3 separate regions of the Homo sapiens genome follow, and regions 2 and 3 are each linked to region 1. Evidence: promoter capture Hi-C in human tissues and cell types (Jung and others, 2019). All regions are on one chromosome and are shown on one strand. The core of a region is centred on a gene start or on the middle of the fragment in contact, and the rest is flanking DNA. Distances in the headings are between cores, read along the strand shown. Region 1 holds the start of GBX2 (gastrulation brain homeobox 2). Region 2 overlaps AGAP1 (ArfGAP with GTPase domain, ankyrin repeat and PH domain 1). Region 3 overlaps AGAP1 (ArfGAP with GTPase domain, ankyrin repeat and PH domain 1).

Region 1 (4,472 bases), core at 246-2,745:
AGGGACGTGCAGATCCCAGACCATCTTTTTTGAGACAGACAACGTTGGTCAAAGGGATGTTTTGTGGCCTTATAAGTTCCCACCAGACACCCCCAACACAAACACACAGGCACAGCCTCCCAGCAGTCCGTTTCTCCCAGACAAGTAGCAAGACCAGCGAAGGGGTTTAAAAAGTCTGGGCGCCCCTGGGCACACGCACGGCTGAGACGCGCAGCCCAACCCGTCTCCCCTAGAGGCTGCAACCTACCCGGAACCCCAGGTCACCGCGGAGCGGCAGAGGCGGCCTCGGCCAAACGCATCGTCAGATAGATATGTGGCCCAGGGCAGCAGCTGGTCGCCGGGCGCTAAACGCCCCCCCTCCCGAGACCCCGCTTGTTGGGTGGCTCTGAATGTCCCCCGGAGGCCCAGCGGCACAGCCGGGCCTCATCCTCCAGCTCCTCCCGCGGGGGTCGAGCGGGGGCGCGGCCTCGCCCCCTTGGTCTCCCGCGGGAACCCGGCGCTGGCCCGCCCCCGCCTCCTCCCGCCCCCTCGTCCCGGCTGCGCGCGCCGCCGACTCACCGAGCGAAGCCTGCACCGTCTCGGCCGCGGAGAAGGCGAGCAGCGAGCCCTCTTTGGCCAGGAAGCCTTTGCCGTCCTCCGCGTCAGCCTGCAGCGCCTCCGCCTTGTCGAAGTTACCGCCGCCGGGCAGCGGCTGCGGCGCGAACTTGCGGGCCGCTGCCGCCTCCTGGTGCTGGGGCGACGCGGAGAAGCCGCCGGGGAGCGTGGCCATGAGCGTAGAGGTGAGCGCCATGCCCTGCGCCAGGCTGGAGCAGAAGCCTGTGGGCAGGCTGGGGATCTGGTGGTGAGGGTGTGCGGGCGGCAGCGCTGGCTGCAGCGCGGCCTGGGGCAGCGCGGGCGGCGGCGGCGGCGGCGGCGGCAGCACTACCGGCCGGTAGGGCATGAACATGGGGTAGCCGGTGTAGACGAAATGGCCGGGGCTGGGCTGCGGCGGGCTGCCGATCAGCGAGTCTATGCTGAAGGCGGTGCTACTCCCCAGCGGGCGCTGCATCATCATCAGCGACGGCGGGAACGCTGCGCTCATAGACGCGCTCGGTAGAGGCCAGCGAGAGGCGAAAAGTCCCCGCGCCGCGCCGCCGCCGGGAAGCCCGCCGGACGCCGGGAGCACCGCCGGGAGCGCCGGGCAGGGGCCGAGCGGGACCCGGAGAGCAGACGCCTCCGCCCCTCAGTCCTGGGCCCGCTGCATGCCGGGCGGGTGCAGGGGGTGTGCGGGGTGAGGCCGTGCGCCCCGGAGTGGAGAGGGCGCCCGGGCCCCGAGGGCTCGCCGGAGCCCCCGTCCGCCGCTTGCCCGTCGGAGCCCGCGCGCTTCGCGGGTTTGGCCCTCGGCCCCGGTAAGCTGCCGTCCGTCCGTCCGTCCCGCCGTCCGTCGCCTCCCGCGGGCCGCTGGGGAGCGCGCGAAGCCGGCGTACTTATCTCCGGCGGGCGCAGCCAGCACCTTTAAATCGCGCTCCTCTTTCTCATTCACATTTTGCCTGCCGCCTGGCCCGGCTCGCCTCACGTGGGGCTGGGCGCCTCTGGCCATTGGCTGAGCGGGGCGGGGGTGGGGCGAAAGCGGGGCCCCGCCCTTTCCACCCAAGCTGGCCTCGAGCGGGCTGCGGGCGCCACCGTCGGAGCGCGCGGGCCGGGGAGCCGGAGCCTGCATGCCTAGCCCGTGCCGCGCAAACTTGAGACGGGCGGATGGCACCTCCAAGGCTCGGACCTTGGGGCCCTGCAGCCTTGTCGAGGCCACCTCGAAGGGTAGCCTCCGGGGCCCGCACCCCCACGGCTGGGCCGGGGGCGCTTTATTTCTTTTACTGTATTTGCCATGGAACCAACCTGCCTGCGGCTCACTCCAGCGCTGGGTGCTCCGGCTGCGCCTGGGGTCCGGGCGAGGGTCCTGGAGTTGGGGGCAGGGTCCTGCCCCTCCGGAGCCACCCCCGGGGCGAAGGCTGGGAGCTGGCAGCGCCTGCCCGCCGCCAGAAACCCGCCGGGTTGCTCGCTGTAGGTCCGCGCACCGGGTGGGGCGGGGAGGCTGCTGCTTCCCCCATCCCGGGCTGGGCCCTCCCGTGAGCGATCCCGTCTCTCATTTTTCATGACATTCTTAATCATCGCACCTATTTACACACTTTGCCAGCGCGCACCAAAATAACAACCACGATAATTATGATAATAAAGAGAGTCCTTTATCTGCTCCATCCTCGGGGAGGAAGGGGGGAGTTGCTGTGCCTCCAGATTGTATAACGTGAGATTATCCTGATGAAAGCTTTATGATGTTTGCTCAAATAAAAGCTGCGTTTTGTAAATAGGCGCTAATTAAGCACGTTGCGAACGCAAGGAGTGCTCACCCTGGCGCCGCCGCCCGGTTTCCAGCGCGAGGACTCGAGGGCGCGCGGTTCCTCTTTGCTAACTGCAGGATGGAGCCGATCCCCTCAGGATGTTTCCCCTGTTCTCGACAACGGTAAAGACCCCCAAATTTGAAAGTAAGGGAATTTTGGGGTGGAGGGAAACTAGGGACGTACTTATCCCCTCTTCCATTTTCAAACAAAAAACTTTCAGCTCTTGTCTTCCCTTTAAAAATGGAATCACTTCTTGACAACGGCAGACCGTGCAGAGCGCACCAGCGCGAGCGGGGCTTCCTCGAGTCTCCAAGGCCCGGGCTTCAACTTCCCGGGTCTAGACGTCAGCCCTGAACCGCCAACAGCACCGGGTTGGGGAGAAGGAAAGAAGGGCATTGTTAGTTCGGTCATTAAAAATCAGCTCACGCCGAGGAGCTAGTGGTTGGGGAGTTGGCCCGTGTTGGACGTGTGTTATGTATCACTTACAAGCACATTTAATTGGGAGATAAAGATAAATCGATCTTTATGAATTTATCGACCCGATTCTTTGAAGCTCTTTTTTCGCGTTCTTCCTCTTTCTCTCGCTCTAGCCCCAAGGCCCCCCGGGGGACGTCTTAATCCCAGATCAGCTCCTCTGCCAGGAGTCCCGCCGGAGACCCACTGCCCACCCAGCAGACCTGGAGGAAAGAGGGGAGGGTGTGTCCTTGGCGCCCCGGGACGCTGGGAAAACTCGCTGGTCCGCCGCCAGCCCTCTCCTCCTCCTCGCCTCCTCCCTCCCTACCACCACCCGGACAAAGACGTCTCGATCGCGTTTCCCCACTCCAGGCCGCAGTAATAGATCGCTCCGGCAGCAGGCGGTTTGAAAGGAATTCATTAGGACGCTGCCTGGATTGCCTCCCCTGACTTCACGCCCAGACCCCGAGGTGGCTTAGGCAGTGTGAGGGGAAATGAATTCCCTTTGGGATCCATGGAGAAGGAGGTGTCTGTGGGATCTCCAGGCTCTATCCCTCCTTCTTCACTCCCAGAAAAGAAGAAAAAGAAAAAAAAAATCGAAGCCCAGGGCAAAAGGCTGATATCTTTATGAGCATAATAAATACTCCCCCTCATTATGAGATAGTTACAGTGACACAGCCTTGGGTGCCATTACCCTGTTTTTTGAATACTAAGAAACGCTCCATTCCTTCCTTGATTTACGTGGCTACAGCCGGGGCCCTTCCGGCTTGCCACTGACATGCCGGGGGAAGCTGTTATTCATTTTACCTAGGCAGGTTTGCCATGCACTTTGCTATTTCGCCGCAAAAATATTGTTCTAGGGACTTTTGTCGCCTGATTACCCTCTGAGAGGCAGGGATTCCTTTGATTATTTTGGTGATTATTCTACATTTAAAGTTCAGCAAGAAGATTTAGGTCCGTCGAATTATAGCTGCACTTGAAATAATTTGATGGCATGTTATTTGCATCCATAAATTGCCATAGCAAGTATTGACTGCAGGGGTTATAATACTAATCTTTTATTAGTGAGTTCAGATAATTCCCATCAATATGAATTTTATTTACTAGTGCCTTTTTCGCAAATGCAATGCAGTAATACTTTCTCATCTAATGCTTAGCTGCTTAGAAAACGACTGTTCGTGTCATAAAAGGATCCTTGTGTTTCGGCGTGATTAACAAGATGCATTCGGGGCACCTCAGCTACCTGCAAAGCGTTCAGAGCGTGGGGACTGCGGATAATAAAAGCCTTTAGAGTTTTTCCTCGGCTCCTCGGATAGATTTATGGACAGGAGCGATAGATGCATGGCTTATCCATCCTCCGGATTCCTACCTGCTTAGCTCGTAACAGCCTCAAACTGCAGAGTCCTCCGTGACTCAGCTCGGCCCAGTCTACGCGGGAAAATCACCGGGCACAGATGTTTGCAACTTGGTCCCCTCCCCCCTCCAATTAGGAAAAATGAAGGGCGCACCCGAAGGGAGAGCTGGGTCCTCCAACTCCAGTTAACTTCGTGAACTTCCCTCCCCTCTTCCCCCCTAGATGAAGATAGCTCAGCCCCTGGGCACTTCACTCGACAGGTGCTAGGCTAGTGTCAGGTTCAGATGATGCCA
Region 2 (4,195 bases), core at 731-3,230, 190 kb before region 1:
TGCCTCGGGGCCTGTGGTCACTAAGCTTATATGAGGGACGAGAGCCGTAGCATTGCTCCAGCAGGTATTTCAATAACTTGATTTGACTCTTCTTAATTAAATAAATAGGTAGCTTTGTTCTTTGGCTTGATTATTCATTTGGGTCTTTCTTGCTTTCTTCAGGTAGGAATGATTTTCCCCTTCAGTTGGTTTTCTGCAGAAGCCATGATATACTGTAGGCATGGTTACCAGAACACCCCTAAGAGAGCTGACCAGAATTTCTAAGTTCATGTTCCATGCGTACACACACACACACACACACACACGGTGTTATTTTTTTTCTTTCTGAATTTCATGAAAATAAAATATTTTCTACCAGAATACACATTTAGTGATGCCTCTTTCAAAGAGGAAATCAATCACGAAACAGAAACTCAGAGTTGACAATCTATTAGCAATAATATCACTATCAATTATTGACCACTGCCATGTGTCAGGCACTGGGCTTAAGTGCTTTACACGCAGCGTCTCATAACCCTCACAAGAACCTGGGAGGTGGGTGCCGTTATCCGCATTTTTATAACTGAGGAAACCGAGGGTCATAAAGTTTAAGTAACTTGCTCAAGGCCATAGACGTAGAAAGCAGCGATAGGGCCACCGATCCAGGCGAGGGCAGCAGTGCTCGCCGCCTCTAACACATCTCCACGGTGACCTTCCCTTCCCTTGGAAGGGGGCGCTTGTCTTTTCAGCGGTCTTGCCTCCGAATCTTGGCTTGTCTAGGATTCTTCCTACAGAAGAAGTTCATATAAAATAAGGGGTTTTATTATGGGTTATCTGAAGAGTGTTTCTTAATTTTAATAAGTTAATATTCCAACCATAAAAACTTCTGACATTTTACCCGAGGCTGTGCTTCAGCAGATTGACAGAATGCATTTTTACAGCACTTAGAAAATACCAGATCCACGAAGAACAAATGATCAAAGTTTCAAAGGCTGTAATTTTGGAAAGCTGGCATATATAATGATGATCTCTTCGCAGCCTGGTAATTTTACCTGGACAAGTAAATCCATTTCTCACATTTAAAGAGAATCAAAGAGTCAGTAAACATGCAGAAACACTTTTAGCTGTGAATGCAGAGTAACTCTTACAATTAACATATAATTACCTCAACGGGCCAATTAATTAAGCAATTTAAGATCTATAACTATTTTCATGATTTTCCCCCAAAATATTACTTTATTCTGCACACCGTGGGGACATCAGCTGGGAGGGTCATAGCTAGGAGGTCAGAAGGAAGGGGGGACGATTCATGCAATGAGGCACTGCTGTTGTGGGGTGTTGGTTTGAAGAACTCATAAATGGTAAAAGTAACCTGTATTATCATTGGTTCTAGGGGACTACTGAAGATAAGAATTTTCAACCTTCCTCTTCGTTGTCTGCTCTCCCAGGCTCATTGAAGGAACATAGAGAAGGTTTAGGCCCTGTTTCTTTTCGAGCAGCACAGAAATACTTGCCCAGTCCGTTCGTGGAAGGAAAGAACCGAAGCCAGCCCTTGGCTGCCATTCTTTCCAGACTTCCACCATTGTGCCCTGAGTGGTTCCAGAATGTCATTGATGGGAAATTGGTTTTCTTTCCTTCTGGACATTCAAAGATTAATATGTTACTGTCATCAGTGACTTGTTACCTTCTGTTTCTGATTGCCAGCTCATCAGCTTAGTTTGCCCAGGAGAGCCACTTTTTCCCACGTTCTTTTACTTGAGTTCTGAGACAAGATTTGATACCCATTCATTTATAGGCCAAATCCAGTTCTTATTTTAATTTTTTTTCCCAACCCCTAAAAAGCATTTGCAAACACTCCTCCACACTGTTCAGATGAGCGATGTGTGAGCATGAGGAGACATTCCTTAAGCCAGCCTGGTCTGTGGAGGTGTGCTCACTGCTGCAGGGCCATTTGCTGAGCAGGAAGCTGGCCTCAGGGGTCTCCCAGGATGCTGGGGCTGGTGGACGACCCCAGAGAAGGGACAGGATGGGGGGTTATGGAAGTGCCCAGCAAGGGGAGCTGCAGGAGGGTCTCTTTACAGGTGTGCAAAGGACCAGCGCTGCTGCAGGGAACATGGCTGGGAGGGCATCCACCGGGGCAGGGGTCTGGGCAAGGGGCTTCTCCCCTTGCTAGGCCCCCTCCTTTTGTTCAGCTCCTCCTCTCCAGCACCAACCTCCCATCACTTTCTACATTCTGGCCCCTTTTTCTCCTTTCCTTCTTTCTCTTCCATTCTCCTTTTTCCTGTAAGACTGTCCTTGCTTCTCTTGTTTAATTTCTTTTTTCTTCTTTTCCCATCCATAACCTCATCATTGTCTTTTTCTCCCTTTCTTATTCTCTTTTTTCTTTGAACTTTTTTTTATTGTGGCAAAATACAGTCATGCATCACATTACAACATTTTGTTCAATGATGGACCAAGTAATGTGATGGTGGTCCCATGAGATTATAATACCGTGTCCTTACTGTGCCTTTTCTATGGTTAGATGTTTAAATACACACTTCCCATTGTGTTGCCACTGCCTACAGTTTTTGATACAGTCACATACTGTATGGGTTTATGCCCTGGGAGCAATAGGCTCTGCACATAGCCTGAGTGTGTGGTAGCCACACCATCTAGGCTTATGTATGGACTCTGTGATGGTCACACAATGACAAAATCGCCTAACGACACATTTCTCAGAATGCATCACTTAACGATGGGGATACATGGCTGTATGTAACATAAAATTTGCCATTTTAATTGTTTTTAAGTGTTCAATTCAGTGCCGTTGAATTATATTTTCACATTCACAGTGCTGGACAACCATGACCGCCATTCCCAAAACATTTTCTTCACTCCAAACAGAAATCTGCTAACCATTAAGCAACAACTCCCCAGCCCCTACTTCTCCCAGCCCCTGTGACCTCCAGCCTGCTTTCTGTCTGTGAATTTGCCTCATCTGGATATTTCATATCAAAAGAATCATATGATAGTTGAATATGGATCCTTTTGTGTCTGGCATCTTATATTTGGCATAATGTTCCATGTTGTAGCATGTGTCTGTACACCATTCTTTTTAAAGGATGGATAATATTCCATAGTGTGGATTTACAACATTTTGTTTGTTGACAGACACTTGGATTGTTTCCGCCTTTTGGCTGTTATGAAGGATGCTGCGTGAACATTGTCACACAAGTATCTGTTTGAGTCCCTGTTTTCAGTTTTTCCTAGGGTATAAACCTAGGAGTGGAATTGCTGGGTCATATGGTAACTCTGTTCAACTTTTCAAGGAACCACCAAATTCTTTTTTTTTTTCCTTTATTTCTTAAAAAAAAAAAAAAATAGATGCGCAGATTGTGCAGGTTTGTTACATAGGTATACATATGCCATGGTGGTTTGCGGCACCTATTGACCCATTTCTAAGTTCCTTCCCCTCACCCCCGACCCCCAAACAGGCCCTGGTGTGTATTGTTCCCCGCTCTGTGTCCATGTGTTCTCGATGTTCAATTCCCACTTATGAGTGAGAACCTATGGTGTTTGACTTTCTGTTCCTGTGTTAGTTCGCCGAGGAAGATGGCTTCCAGCTTCATCCATGTCCTTGCAAAGGACATGATCTCATTCCTTTTTATGGCTGCATAGTATTCCATGGTGTATATTTAGCACATTTTATTTATCTAGTCTGTCATTGTTGGACATTTGGGTTTGTTCCATGTCTTTGCTATTGTAAATAGTGCTGCAATAAACATATGTGTGAATGTGTTTTTATAGCAGAATGATTTATATTCCTTTGGGTATATACCTAGTAATAGGATTGCTGGGTCAAATGGTATTTCTGGCTCTAGATCCTTGAGGAATCGCCATACTGTCTTCCGCAATGGTTGAACTAATTTACATTCCCACCAACAGTGTAAAAGCATTCCTATTTCTCCGTAGCCTCACCAGCATCTTTTGTTTCCTGACTTTTTAATAATCACCATTCTAACTGGCATGAGATGGTATCTCACTGTGGTTTTGATTTGCATTTCTCTGATGATCAGTGAGTTGAGCTTCTTTTTCATATGTTTATTGGCTGCATAAATGTCTTCTTTTGAGAAATGTCTGTTCATATCCTTTGCCCACTTTTTGATGGGGTTGTTTGTTTCTTGTAAATTTGTTTAAGTTCTTTGTGGATTCTGGGTATTAGCCCTTTGTCAGATGG
Region 3 (4,550 bases), core at 262-2,761, 250 kb before region 1:
ACCAAGGTCACTCGGGAGTTTTCCACACATTGGATCTTGGTTACAACATATAAATTGGAAGCTTCTGCTAAGTACCCTTCTAGCACCTTGGTAGACCATTTGCAAATGGAAGCCTTACTGGTCGAGAATTATTTTTCTGAAATAAAACCTCAATATCAGTAGCATGTGATATCTGCTTTCATAAACCAGGTTTTGTTGGAATTGGTTTTAATGTCTATTTGACAATTTTTAGGGAAAATGTTAATGTTTTGTGAGGCTTCTCAGACATCAGAAAGTTAGCTAAATCTGACATTAGAGGACACTAAAGTTCATCTTAGTTCTTTTTAAGAATTGCAGCATCTTCAGCTTTTATGAGCAATGCGTTCTCACTATTAGTTGTTTCCGTGTTTATACATTGCTCCCACTGAGGTTTAGGCAAATTCGTGTGGTATTGTTTCCATCATTAAATTGTAAACTCTTTGAGGCATACACTGTTACTTCTCTTTCTTTGTTATCCTCTCTTAGTTTTGTGACCTAGCAATTATTTTCTCATTAGGTATATATTCCTGCATGTTACCCATCATGTTAAATGTAAGTGATGGATGTTGAGGAGATTAGTTGCTTTCCTGCAGATAATGTTCCCCTGTAGTAGCTCTCTGTGGTCCTGAGCATTGGTGTGTAATTCAGAAGTAAGTATTGTACTTCCTAAATTAAGGATAGCTTCAATTATTTGAACTCTAAGTGGAGTGTTCTTTTCTGAAAGAACCAACTAAAGCAACTTGATTCCTGATGATTTCAGCTGAGACATATCAGGGGATGGCCAGGACCTTGAGTTGGATGTGGTAACAGGTGTGCCTACAAGTAAATAAAAGGTGCTTCAAACACTTTTTTTCTCTCAAAAATGTGTGTGGGCAGGGAGGAATAGTGTTTCAGCTGCTGAACTGATGCTTCCGAGACCAGCGAAGTGGTCTGCAGGGTCAGCTGTGGGAAAGAGGAGGTGCCCGGAAGAGCCTCTGTGAATTACCCGCGCCCCCTCCACCAGGGAGCCAGCTGCCAGCCCCGGGGGCCAGTGAGAACCGAGGCCTTGGGAAAGGGCTTCTGGTTCTTCCAGGCTAGAGTTGAGTCCGTGGCTTCCCTGCTTCCTGCAGTCCTTTCCCACACTGGCAGAGGAGAGTTTTTCGAAGTAATCGTGACATTTTTCCATCTCGAAACCTTGTGGCCCATTGTTTTGAGTTACCACTCATATAGTGAACGTTTGCGTTTCTGGAGTATTTCTAGGGAGTGGTCAAACCCCGTAACATCCCAACCAGCAAACCTGTAAAACCCGCCTCATGTTATCAGACTTGTGAGCCCGGGGTACTCCTTGGTGCTTTGTCTTCCCTGTGTCATTGCTGGATTCAGTTGTGAGATCATTTTGTAAGAACTGGAAAGCAGAGAAAGAAGTAGTAGTGAATACTTCTCAGGATAGAGCTGTGGGGCCACCTGCTCCTGGAAGGGGACTGTAAAATTCAGAGATGACCGGGGAACGCTCCCCTCAAAACAGTGTTGTCAAATGAAAATGAATTTCATGTTAAAAACACACACACACACACCTGTTGCATTTATCATATAAAGGAGAAAGAATATTGTAAAGATGGAACCGTTATTCATGGCAAAGGAAGACACCAAACAAAGAAAAATTCTTTTCTTCTCCGTCTTCACAATGCTTACACCCCTCATCCTCGCTGTTGCATCAGCTTGTCCATATAACCCATACCAGGAGATGGATTGTGGCCAAGACAAGCCGTACGATGGCGCTCTCCATAAACACTGTCGGAATCTGGAGCAGCACGTGTTCCTTCAGCAGATAAAAATGGCAAAATGAGAATGGCACACATTGTTTTGCAAAGGTCGGAATAAGACTCCACGTTTTAGGAAGTGACGACGAACCGTCTAATTCTAGGATGTTGAATTCTGCTTGGCCACGTTGATGTATTTAGTAGTCGTTAAATTTGTCATTGCAACTGGGTCTGGATTCTGTATATTCTTTTTTCTGTTATGTAGAACTGTGTGGCTGGAGAAAGCAACTTTGTCTTTAGAATAAATACTTACACTTATTTCTAAATATAATTACTTAAATGAGAACTTAGCGTCTGACATGGTAAATATTTTGTCTTAAATTGTACCAATTGCCACATGATATCCACTCCCAACATGGAGCAGTAACCCAGGGATGGGAGGGAAGGGATGACTCTGGCGCTCCAGCTCACTGTCACCTGCTGTCAGGCCATGTCCTTCATCCGCTGCATGCGCATGGTGCCCCAAGCGCAGGGTTGTTGTTTTTTTTCTCTCCTTCCTTTCTTTTGTAAACTGTACCTCTGACAACATTGGCATCGCTCTGATCATCAGACCTTTGGGATGCTGGAAGATGGGGGGTGCCGTGGAGTTCTCCACAGCACCAAGCACTTCACTAGTTGATGGTGGGTGTTCAGTAAGTACTCACAGAGGGAATGAATGAGCTCAAGCAAAGTGATGCCAACTACAGCACTAAAGCAAACAGGAGGCAGATGGCATGCACAGTTCATACATGAAGAGACACCATTACAAGGGAAACATAAGGAAAATATTCAGACATTTTAGATTTTAAAGACAAACAAGATTAGCAACATCACCATTTTAAGCTTTTGCTAAAAAACTGTAGAGATAGGAAAACCCACTGTTGATGAGATTAATAACTGATATCTGCAGAGGTTTTACAGTTTACAGAGTGCTTTACATAATTTGATCATTATATTAACCACATGGGGCATACTGTTATCATTATCACCATTTCTTCATTATTATTATTATCCACTTAGAAATTATGGACTAAATTGCTTTAAAGATGCCCAGGTTCCATCTTCTTTTAGTTACTGGTCATTAAGAAAATTAATTAGCAACATATATCATGAATCAGAAAGATATATTATGCTGTTTGTTCCAGTAATAACGCTGCTGAGAATTTCTTCTAAGGAAAATTCAAAAGTAGAAGATGTCCTTTGCAGTGTTGTTTATAGCCAGAAATTGGAAACAACCAAAACTATCCAGAAGTAGAAAAATGGTGATATAAATTATCTACATTAAATCAATAATGTTACATATCTAAAATTATGAAGATTACATAACAACATGGGGAAAATGGTTAGGAAATCATATTAAAGAAGTGTATAAAGTTATATCTTTTCTGTGGCCATAACCAAGAACAATGTATGCATATGTTCAATAAAAAATTGATCTGTTAGACGAGATTTTGGTGGATTTAGTTTACATTATTTGTATATCTGTACTTTTGCCAAGTATATTTTAACAGTACAACAAAATAGGCCCCCATTATTTTTTTCCTTGACATCATAATTTAGAACAGGGAGAAAGCAGCATACAATGAGCTGTTTCTACGTTGTAGGAAAGAGCTGTGTAATTCCAGGATGTGGAATCCTAAGCCTGGCCACGTTGCTGTATTTAGTAGTAATTACATCTGTCATTGTGACTAGGTCTGAACTCTGTACTCTGTCTTGATAAACATAACATGGAAAATCTCTTAACTAAACAAAAGGTATCAAGAAACACCAGATTTGTGTCTTCCTAGTAGATATGTTGAATTGTACTCTTTTACAAAACAAGTATCACAGGATGCAGAGTCCCGAATGCCTACATCTTATAAGATACTGAATGTGTCCTTGGAAAAAAAATCCTCTCAGCCTGAAATTCCACTTGCCAAAAGCAAGGCAGATCTCCAATGCAAATACAGGAGCGAATGGGCCCCATTCACAGGCCTTAAATCGTGTGTCTCACTTTTTATGGTAGTGTTGTGAATTCTGTTCTTTTTGGGTTTGTAATTAGAGGACAGAACAGATGGCGAAGGCCTAGTTTGAAGTGATGTGACTGTTAACGTCGCCTCCTTCATCCAGTTGTGATTCCAGGGAACCCGGTTTTCCCACACATGCGCACAACGGGCGTGGTGCAGCTGTAGGGTTTGCAAGGTAGCCGCTCACGCTGAGTTTTTACAGCATTTGAAGCTGCCTGTGAATGAGATTGGACCGAAGAAAGCCGTCCCTGGATGTTTCTAAGGGTGAAGGCTCCATAGGGGAAGGGTGAATTCTTGTCAATCATATTCCTGTAATTAGGATTTGTTAAAATAGAAGGTATACAATTCTGCAGTGGGAATAAACGTCTGTTTTACACTCAAGTGCTCATAGAATCCTTTTTGGCTTTTTCCCCGCCCTCTTTCTATGTACATGAAAGTTCCTATCGCCATCACCAAGAGTTGCTCCTCTTTTCAGGCTTACTTAACCAATAAGTCAAATGCCAGCTATTATTTTCCTAGTTAAATGCTTTGGTGAAGTTAAGTCCTATTTGTAAAGACAGACCAAAATTGGAAGGCGCAGGGAATGAACTTTTGTATTTTGTTATTGTTATTGTAAAGATTTGTTGATGAATCTTTATTTGAATGCTATGAAAAGCCATCATTTCAGAGTATATTTTTAAAAATCAGAACAGGCTATTTTTAATGTAATAAGCTAATAGCTTAAAAGAGGGATTCTGTCTTTGATGTC

Evidence for each region. Contacts are between HindIII fragments. The study calls those that stand out against the background at their distance.
Region 2: a contact is called between a fragment that was not itself captured here and the fragment with the promoter of GBX2 in region 1, in 1 of the 25 tissues and cell types used here (mesendoderm cells).
Region 3: a contact is called between a fragment that was not itself captured here and the fragment with the promoter of GBX2 in region 1, in 3 of the 25 tissues and cell types used here (H1 embryonic stem cells, heart right ventricle and spleen).

The regions. Positions count from the first base shown.
Region 1 is chr2:236,166,891-236,171,362 of GRCh38, forward strand. It overlaps GBX2 (gastrulation brain homeobox 2), which reads right to left and starts at 1,496. Exons shown (of 2, transcript NM_001485.4): 1 at 559-1,496. The coding sequence starts at 1,081. It overlaps GBX2-AS1 (GBX2 and ASB18 antisense RNA 1), which reads left to right and starts at 552. Exons shown (of 2, transcript NR_186035.1): 1 at 552-779. It overlaps LOC124906126 (a long non-coding RNA gene), which reads left to right and starts at 2,136. Exons shown (of 2, transcript XR_007088136.1): 1 at 2,136-2,494; 2 at 2,639-2,906. RefSeq lists an enhancer at 1-627. The HindIII fragment of the contact is 12,753 bases long and covers 1-4,472 here.
Region 2 is chr2:235,981,170-235,985,364 of GRCh38, forward strand. The region is part of intron 13 of AGAP1 (ArfGAP with GTPase domain, ankyrin repeat and PH domain 1); the gene reads left to right. The region is part of intron 1 of LOC124907999 (a long non-coding RNA gene); the gene reads left to right. Among named protein-coding and RNA genes, the nearest start is that of GBX2-AS1, 180 kb to the right of the region's middle. The HindIII fragment of the contact is 4,487 bases long and covers 1-4,195 here.
Region 3 is chr2:235,918,155-235,922,704 of GRCh38, forward strand. The region is part of intron 11 of AGAP1 (ArfGAP with GTPase domain, ankyrin repeat and PH domain 1); the gene reads left to right. Among named protein-coding and RNA genes, the nearest start is that of GBX2-AS1, 250 kb to the right of the region's middle. The HindIII fragment of the contact is 4,419 bases long and covers 1-3,721 here.